Linked DNA regions of Homo sapiens: region 1 is linked to region 2. Evidence: promoter capture Hi-C in 16 types of primary human blood cells and fetal thymus (Javierre and others, 2016). All regions are on one chromosome and are shown on one strand. The core of a region is centred on a gene start or on the middle of the fragment in contact, and the rest is flanking DNA. Distances in the headings are between cores, read along the strand shown.

Region 1 (4,352 bases), core at 1,834-4,333, 310 kb after region 2:
GGTGACCACAAGGTTTTGGTCCTAAGAAACGGTACAGATGGAGTTGCCACTTACTGAGATGGGGAAAATGAGGGAGAAACCGCTTGTGGAGGCCAGAGGAGGAGCCAGCACAGAATCCAAAGGTCAGTTTTGAATATGTTGGGTTTGAGGAGCTTACTAGAGATTCCCGTGGAGATGTAGAGTAGGCAGGTCAATAATAAGCTTGCAGTCCAGGCAACGGGTCAGGGCTGGAAACACAAGTTATTCTCTTTGTCTTCTTTATATTCATGTTTGTTGCCACTGTGTGTTTCACTTACCTAATGCATTCGTGATTTATTGCTGCATAACAAATTACCACAAACTTAGTGGTTTAAAACAGTACACTTTTCCAGCCTGGGCAACATGATGAAACCCCATCTCTACTGAAAACGCAAAAAATAAAAGATAAAAAATTAGCCCAGCGTGGTGGCACACACCTATAATCCCCGCTACTTGGTAGGCTGAGGCACAAGAATTGCTAGAACCCAGGAAGTGGAGGTTGCAGTGAGCCAAGATTGTGCCACTGCACTCCAGCCTGGGCAACACAGCGAGACTCTGCCTCAAAAATAAATAAATAAATAACAGTACACTTTTATCACTTCAGTTTCTGTGGGTCAGAAGTCCAGGCAGAGCTTAGTGGGCTTCTCTGCTCAGAACTTCACAAAGCAAAAGTATTATTCATGCATGTAAACCTCTAAGCACAATACCAACATCACGGTAGGTTCTATGTGAGTATAAGCTATTATTAAGAATAATAATCAATCCTCTTCCCTCTCCTCCATCCCTAAGGCCTCATCATTTCTTGCCTGGAGTGTCACAGTAGCTTTCTTCCTGGTCTCCTTGTCTTCTACCATCTGATTCTCTAATGAGGACTGGCTATATTGTGTAATCATAGCGTCATCATTCCACAGAATACAATGTAAATGGCACTCTTACTTCCCATCTTCCCTGGCACCTTTCACACTATTGTTTCCAATGTACACATTTTCTCATGCCATTTTTAAAAAAGATTTTCTCTTCACCTTCAAACTAAAACTCCAACTCCACAACAGGCACCAGCTGATACCGAACCTTTCATAATGGAAAATAATGACATTCATAAAGAGTTAATATGTGCAGGTGCTGTGCTAGGTTCTCCCCAAACAACTTAAGAAGCAGGTCACATCCCTACCCATAGCTGAAGAAACAAAGACATTGAGTGAGAAATGAACTTAGGGGTCTCATAGTTTGGAAACTACAAAGTTCAGAGATATGAAGAGTTGGGCTCAGAAACTCCTAATCTGAAGCTTAGCACATTGGCTGCTTCTTTGTGTCAAAGTGACTTGGACCCTCCAGGCAAAGGTGGGATGTTCATTCTTACTAATACGATCTCAAGCAGCACAGCTTCTGATAGAGTCTGAATTTAAAAATAAACAAATGAACAAATAAACAAATATTGATGGATGAATAGGGGTGAACAGCAGGATGGATTTATAATAAAGTAAGAAACTAAAATATTAATTATACAATCTACATGGTAGATATATTGGAATTTACTGAAATTCTTTCACCTTTGCTATATGTTTTAGAAGTTTTATAATAAACTGTTGGGGAGGGGGAAGGGGGAGGGAAAAATTGTGTTTTTCTGTTGATAACAGAGACCAGAAGTACCACTGGCTTAAATAAAACAAGGATTTGTTTTCCTTTCATGAAAAACAAACTTATTTGGAAATTTACCCTGAGTACTAATATATAATAAAATATTTTAAAAGAAAAAATTTTTTAAATAAATTTAGATGGTGACAGTCCAGGGCTGATCTGGCACCTCAGATATGTCATTCATGCCCCAGCCTGCTTCTGACTTCATTCTCTGCTGTCCCAGTGTGTGGCTTCCAACCTCAAGGCTGCCTCATGGTCCCAGGGTGGGCTACTGCACCTCCGGGTCCAAAGTCCATGTTCTAGGCAAGAGGAAGAAGGAAGAAGGGAGAGTGTACCCTCACACTCCCAGCTATTTTGGCCTCCCTTTGAAGGATTTCTGGGAGAAGTACAAGCCCACAACTTTCACCTACAAACCGCTGGCTCCAACTTAGTCCCTTGGCCTGCCCTATCTTCAAGGGGGAAGAGCAGGATGCAGTACCCCAGAAAATTAGGCCTTGTCACTAAGAAGAAGGGGGCATGCACGCTGCAGAAGCAACCAGCCATCTCAAGCAGATACCACACAGCCTAAATTCAAACTGTTGCAATATAATCAAATCCCATCAGCTCCAGTCACATATTAGCTCTAGGAGATTTCTGGCTTGCAGCCCAAAAAAGTGTGTTTTGAGGTCGTAAGCCACAGGGAGAACAAGATTGTCCCATAAACTCCTTACAGAGATGGTGTACAGGAAACGAGCCTTACAGAGACCACAGCCTATGGAGTGTCTAGCTTCAGAGAATATGTACTCCACTGGCAGCGTGAGAAACAAATACCCAAGAAAATACAATATAGCACAAACCAGGAGCTGAGGGTGAATGAAGATGCTCAGAAAGATCTGCAGTAAGAATTTCCTGGGAAAGGTAAAACAATGTCAAGCAGCACTGCCTCTGGAAATCAGAAAAATTATATTATTTGATACCATATCCTAAGCCTAAATGCCAGAAGTTCTTAAAGAGGTGCAGTTTGTCTCATTTTCTTTCCATTCATACCTTTATTAGGCTCTGTAAAAAAGATCCTCCTCTTCTACGTACCTATCTACATGCAAGCAAACTGCCACAGAAGCATCTTAATTAGTGCACATCTTCCTCTCTTTGCACATTAAATTTTTTTACTTTCCTACTCCATTCTGCTAATATTTCTATTACCATGTAAAAGACACGAGACAGGTGAATATAAAGAAATACTTATATACATCCACGCACAAGAATGATTCAAATAGATAAACACAGAAACACAAACACTAAGGGAGGTAGGGCTGGAGTTTTTCCTCAACGTGTACAATTCAATGTACTTTCAGTTTTCATTTCAACGTTCCTCAGTGGTTTCTGCCCAGCAACTGATGAGAAACATCACCTCTGAGCCAATCAAAAAACTAATTCTTCCAAAGAGCGACTCTTACTGTTTCTCATGGTGAGAAGACAATATTTGCTTTCTCTTTTTCCTTTCTTCCGGATGAGAGGCTAAGCCATAATAGAAAGAATGGAGAATTATTGATTGACCGTCTTTATTCTGTGGGCTCTGATTCTCCAATGGGAATACCAAGGGGTAAGTGCAGGAAATTGATTAGAGCCTGGGCTACAACGCATGGGAGGAGCGGGGCTGAATCGCTGAGAGTGGTGAGTGGGCATGCAGGGAGAGTACTCTCCCAGAGAAAGGGGTGCAGTGCCTGTGTGTGTGTGTGTGTGTGTGTGTGTGTGTGTGTGTGTGTGTACATGTGTACATGTGCACACTCGCACATGCACATATGGGCACGTGGGAAGACGGGAGAAGTACTGCAAAGTATAAGGAACTGCAGAGGTTGGGATTTAGTGGAAGGAAAGGGAGACAACATGAATGAAGAAATATTCCAACTGCATGTTCTTAACGTATTGTGGTCAGAAAAGGGCAAACAAACAAACAAACAAAAAACCCTTAAAATCTGTTCTGGCCAACTCAAGGCATCTATTCTGAGAAATTCTGAAGAAGAAGAAGAAAAAAGAGATGTGCCTCATAGATTTATATGTAAATGTGTTTATTACAGAAGTATTTATAATATAGTAAAATCTGAACCAACATACATATTCAACAGGTGGGGAATAGACAAACAATGCATGGTTCAGTCATAAAACATGTTCCATGTAACCATTAGGAATCATAATTTTAATTAAGTGAAATTCTTTATAATTTTAATAACACTGGATCCTTATATTAAACCATTTTTGGTATCTTTTAGGGATAGTACTTGGTTTTCTTTCCATTCATCATTTCCCCAAAACCTAAAGCATGATTTCCCATGGTTACAAGCTACTACATTGTATGAATATATAATTATTGGGAGTCTCTGTGAGCCTACTCTGACTCAGAAAGCCGCTCCTAAAGAAGAAAAAAGAACAAACAAACAAATAAAAAACCCGAATTATTTTTAAAACTCTTTATTTTGGATTTTTCAGTTTCTACATTTTGTTACTGTAGATTTTACTAGATTGAACAGCCTTATCCATAAATATTTGCATCAATCTCTAAATTTTTTTCTTCAACACTAACTTTTATAGTTGGAATTTTGGGGGCAAATAATACAACATTTTAAAGGCACTTGCCATGTGTACATGGCCAAATGCTTCCAGAAACATTTCCACTTCCATTAGCAAAGTATATAACTACAGAGTATTTAAGGTTTTAT
Region 2 (4,538 bases), core at 1,129-3,628:
AGATTTAGGTATTAGTTGAACACTTGCCATTTGTCACATAATCATCTCAGCATTGAGGATAGCACACAACACAATGTTTAAAACAATACAATTCTACCTTAAGAATTGTGGGAATGACTAAAGGAACAAAATAGAAACCTGAGAAACCTAAGACAGTCCAACTGTCCATGAAATTATAGCGTATTAGCCTATGACAAAACAGCCAAAATTGATAGGAGCGTGGAGGGTGGCACGGGAGGAAGAAGGGGGAAGCAGAAATGAAAGTTCATAAATGGTCTTGGGAAAAATATGTCCATATGTTAAACCTTACACCAAAATAGAGGGTTCACCATGTTAAACCGTGTTGTAATGTAAAATTAACAACACAAAATTACTTAAACCATGGGAGAATGTTTTCTCCTTCTTCCCTGCCTCTGTCTTCCTGTCTCTCTGCTTGCCTCCCTCCCCTTTCTCTTTCTTGGGATGAATCCGTGGTCACTATCACTAACAAATCAACTCACTATATTAATCATTGTGGAGATGGTAGAATAATTGAGCAGCTTATCTCCAGAAGCCCCAGTCCCCATAATTTAGGTCTCACCAAAATGTGCCCACCAGATTTTAAAAGAAGCGAATATAAGACGCTAGGCTTTCTGTATTCAGAAGCACCATGGATGTCAAACAGAGGGAACCATTAACGAAGGCCTTTATTAGAAATGTCTCCCATTTATCCATACACTCTTCATAGTTAATAGTACAAATACTGTTTTCTGCATAGAAACATTTGGACTGCCAAACAAAATACGTTTAAAGGAACTTCGATTTTTAAATGTTGCTGTCTGTCTAAACAGGATAAGCAACCGTAGTCATGCGAGGACAAAATGGCTGGCTAAAAGTTGTGCTTTCGATACGCTCAAAATCGATACGCTCAAACCTGTCAGTTTAGCGGAAGGCTACATGTTATGTGGCACAAAAAACTCCCTAGGTCCACGATTGCCTTGGGTGGAGGAAGGGCTATTGCCGCTGTTGTGGCTGTTTTTTAAATGCATTCCTTCGTTGCCACAGGAATGAGAAATTAACAGCAGAGGAATGTAGGACAAAGGTACCTGCACGCACTCTCCTCCCAGGGCTGGATGTTGCCACTACCTCCAGGAGACATCAACTTGACTACCAACAACATGGAAAGCGTCCGAAATCCCAGACATTAATATAAAGAGAAAAGAGGCAAAACTTTTAAGTCACAGTAAAGCAAAAAACACAGAATAAGCAACGTCTTCCACCATCCAATTAAATACAGAATGAAAGTCATGTACTAGAAGAACGGACCAACCCGGGAGCAGGGCGGGACTTTTGAAAATTTTTTAGTCCAATCCGGACATCCCTTTAGACTAAGAAACTGGCTCTTGTTTTGCGGTCTTTTCTGCCGTTCACAGGCCTGGGGCGGGACTGCCATCCCAAAACCATCCGCCAGCGAGAAAAGCCTCCGGTCAGGGACCTAGAAGCCGCAATAAAGGTTTAAATGCTGTAACCTCACCACGGCCACTCTCCAACCCCGTCACCCAATTCGTCTGATACCTCAGTAACTCCCATACGACTAACCTTAAGTAACAGGGCAGAACAAGAAAAGGCAGATAGTAAAGAAATTATCCAGCTCTTTTATTGAGATCAGTGGTGGCTCTGAAAAGAGCCTTTTGGGTTTTAGAAGTAGGCGTTCGCCTATTTCTTCTTGGGCGCCGCCTTCTTAGGCTTGACAACCTTGGGCTTAGCGGCCTTGGGCTTCACAGCCTTAGCAGCACTTTTGGCAGCTTTCTTGGGCTTCGCAACCTTGGCCTTCTTTGGGCTCTTAGCCACTTTCTTGGTTACAGTGGCCGCGGCCGGCTTCTTCGCTTTCTTCGGTGTTTTCTTAGCGCTCTTCTTCGGAGTTGCGCCGCCAGCCGCCTTCTTGGGCTTCTTGGCTGCCCCAACTGGCTTCTTAGGTTTGGTTCCGCCCGCCTTTTTAACCTTGGGCTTGGCTTCCCCGGAGGCTGCCTTCTTGTTGAGTTTAAAGGAGCCAGAAGCACCGGTGCCTTTCGTTTGCACCAGAGTGCCCTTGCTCACCAGGCTCTTGAGACCAAGTTTGATACGGCTGTTGTTTTTCTCCACATCATAGCCGGCGGCAGCCAACGCTTTTTTCAGAGCAGCCAGAGAAACTCCGCTACGCTCTTTAGAGGCGGCCACAGCCTTGGTGATGAGCTCTGACACCGGGGGACCAGACGCCTTACGAGGCGTACCCCCAGCCTTTTTGGCCGCCTTCTTCTTTACAGGGGCCTTCTCCGCAGGAGGCGCGGCAGCGGGAGCGGCAGGAGCAGTCTCGGACATGTTGAGAATCAAAAACTCGGGTACAAGTGGCAAAGCGCCGATGAAGCAGCGCCTGGGCAGGGCCGCTGTATATATAGAGCGCAGGCGCGCTCTGATTGGTGCTCTGGTCGCCCGCCTGGCTGGCAGGCTCTGAGCCGCTGCGCTGCTCCCAAGTTGTGTTTGTTCCACCTCACAAAAGGGGAAAAATATTAAAATTCCCCGCACCAAATCACTTGGGTTTGGTCAGGAAAGGATCTCAGAAGCCTCGGGCTTCATGCTCTTCATTTATTTTTTCCACAAACACAAAAACAACGCGTCCAGGCGTCCCCAATTCCCCCAACTCCGAAGGAAGTCTGGGGCAGTCAGAGACCACTTTCTGTTTTTCTTATAAATTACCTGTTCGCTCCTTTGCCCCTGAAGGTTCTTTTTCCCAGGGGTGGTTGGGCACATGCTTCCCTTATTTTTGAAGAAAAAAGCGAAATGGTTTCCACCTAAATTTTCATGATAATTCTGTTTCTTCACAAGGGAAGTAACACAGGTCCTCTGTGAATTCTTCGTGCAGTCGCACAGGAACTGTGGACTGGGACAAGGATTCCACGGCCAGTCCAAAGCAATTAGGGCGGGATGGGAGGGGGTTCATGAGCCTTGCTAGGGTCCGGGGTGGTGGGGGGCTACAGACTTAAATCTTTGATTTGAAGACATTGAAACTATCAAATCCCTCTTTTCATAGATGGGGGTGGGGCATCCTTTTCACTTCTCTACAGGCGAGAAATTGGGCTCTTTTTAAAGAGCTCTGAGGTCCCCCTCTGAGTTGTGTAAGGCAGGAGGTCTGGCCCTCAAGATAGAGATCATAAAGGAACAAGGGAGAGCCCTTAAGCCTGCAAAAAAGCCAATAGATTTGGCAGTTAGAGGCACTGAGATAATATGTTTTCAAAGAAAACAAGCATTTTTTATTTATTTATTTTTGTACGCTGCAATATAGAAATGAATTTCAGCCCATGAAAATTGTAGGTTACTTTCAGTAACCATACCTTACGCAAGTTACCATATAGGACAATCTCCAGTTGGGAACTCAAATATATCTTTTGAGTTGCAAATAAAGCAACTGACTTTAATAAAACACACTCTTGACTTTTAAGATGAACAATGTATTTGAAATTTATTTTTTTAAATAGCAAAATTTAACACAGAAAGACAAGAAAAGTACCAGAACATGTAATTTATTATAAGATCTGTTGTTGATGAGCTGAAAAATCACCTCTTCTCATCCCCTCTGAAACTATTCTGTTCTAAAGTTTGCTACTTTAAGGTTCACTACTTCTTATTTTACTCTCCGACCCCAAGTAATTGCTATTTTTTTCTTGAGATTAAAGGCAAAGTAAATTGTCTGCCCATATATTTGATATAATTATAGATTCATATTTAGGGACAAAGGTAATATTACAACTCCCCAACAATTTCTGCTCAAATATATGTTTTCATGAAAATATGTGTTAAAGAGAACAGCCTTAGATTGTGGGAAAGTCAAAAGGGAACCTACAAATAAGAGTTCAATGACAAATGAAAAGTGAAACATCTTTTAGACTAAGGGTGACCCCATTGTTTTATTAAATAACATTTGTCCAACATTTGTAAACATTGTCTGCTTGTGTGCTTATGTCCTCTGGGAATTAACAGTCTAATGAGATTAGTGATGGATGAATTAGCAGTGGTGGAAAAACACTTAGACCGGCTATTCCTCAGAGTGACAGGGTATAAGAATTATACAAAATTATGGAAAGTGTATAAACAATTGAAGCACCTGCATCATACTAATATATTGTAGTAAAAGAAATAATATAAGGCTGGGCCCCGTGGCCCACGCCTGTAATCCTAGCACTTTGGGAGACTCGGGGGCGGATCACCTGAGGCCAGGAGTTTGAGATCAGCCTAGCCGACATGGTGAAACACCATCTCTACTAAAAGTACAAAAATTAGCTGGGGGTGGTGGCACTCAGGAGGCTGAGGCAAGGGAATCGCTTGAACCCGGGAAGCAGAGGTTGCAATGAGCCGAAATGACGCCACTGCACTCCAGCCTGTGCAACAGGGTGAGACTCAGTCGAAAAAAAAAGAAAGAAAGGAACAATATAAGAACATGTCACTTAGGCCAGGCTTGGTGGCTCACGCCTGTAATCCTAGCACTTTGGGAGGCTGAGGCGGGCAGATCGCCTGAGGTCAGGAGT

Evidence for each region. Contacts are between HindIII fragments. The CHiCAGO score rates a contact against its expected background, and 5 or more counts as called.
Region 1: a contact is called between the fragment with the promoter of BTN3A2 here and the fragment with the promoter of H1-2 in region 2, in 1 of 17 cell types (neutrophils). The highest score is 10.0, in neutrophils.

What each region holds. Positions count from the first base shown.
Region 1 is chr6:26,362,115-26,366,466 of GRCh38, forward strand. BTN3A2 (butyrophilin subfamily 3 member A2) reads left to right here and starts at 3,084. Exons shown (of 11, transcript NM_007047.5): 1 at 3,084-3,238. RefSeq lists an enhancer at 3,042-3,091. The HindIII fragment of the contact is 4,055 bases long and covers 1,303-4,352 here.
Region 2 is chr6:26,054,092-26,058,629 of GRCh38, forward strand. It overlaps H1-2 (H1.2 linker histone, cluster member), which reads right to left and starts at 2,379. Exons shown (of 1, transcript NM_005319.4): 1 at 1,649-2,379. The coding sequence starts at 2,337. The coding sequence ends at 1,696. RefSeq lists enhancers at 1-239, 860-1,481, 1,892-1,941, 2,032-2,431 and a silencer at 1,332-1,401. The HindIII fragment of the contact is 9,556 bases long and covers 1-4,538 here.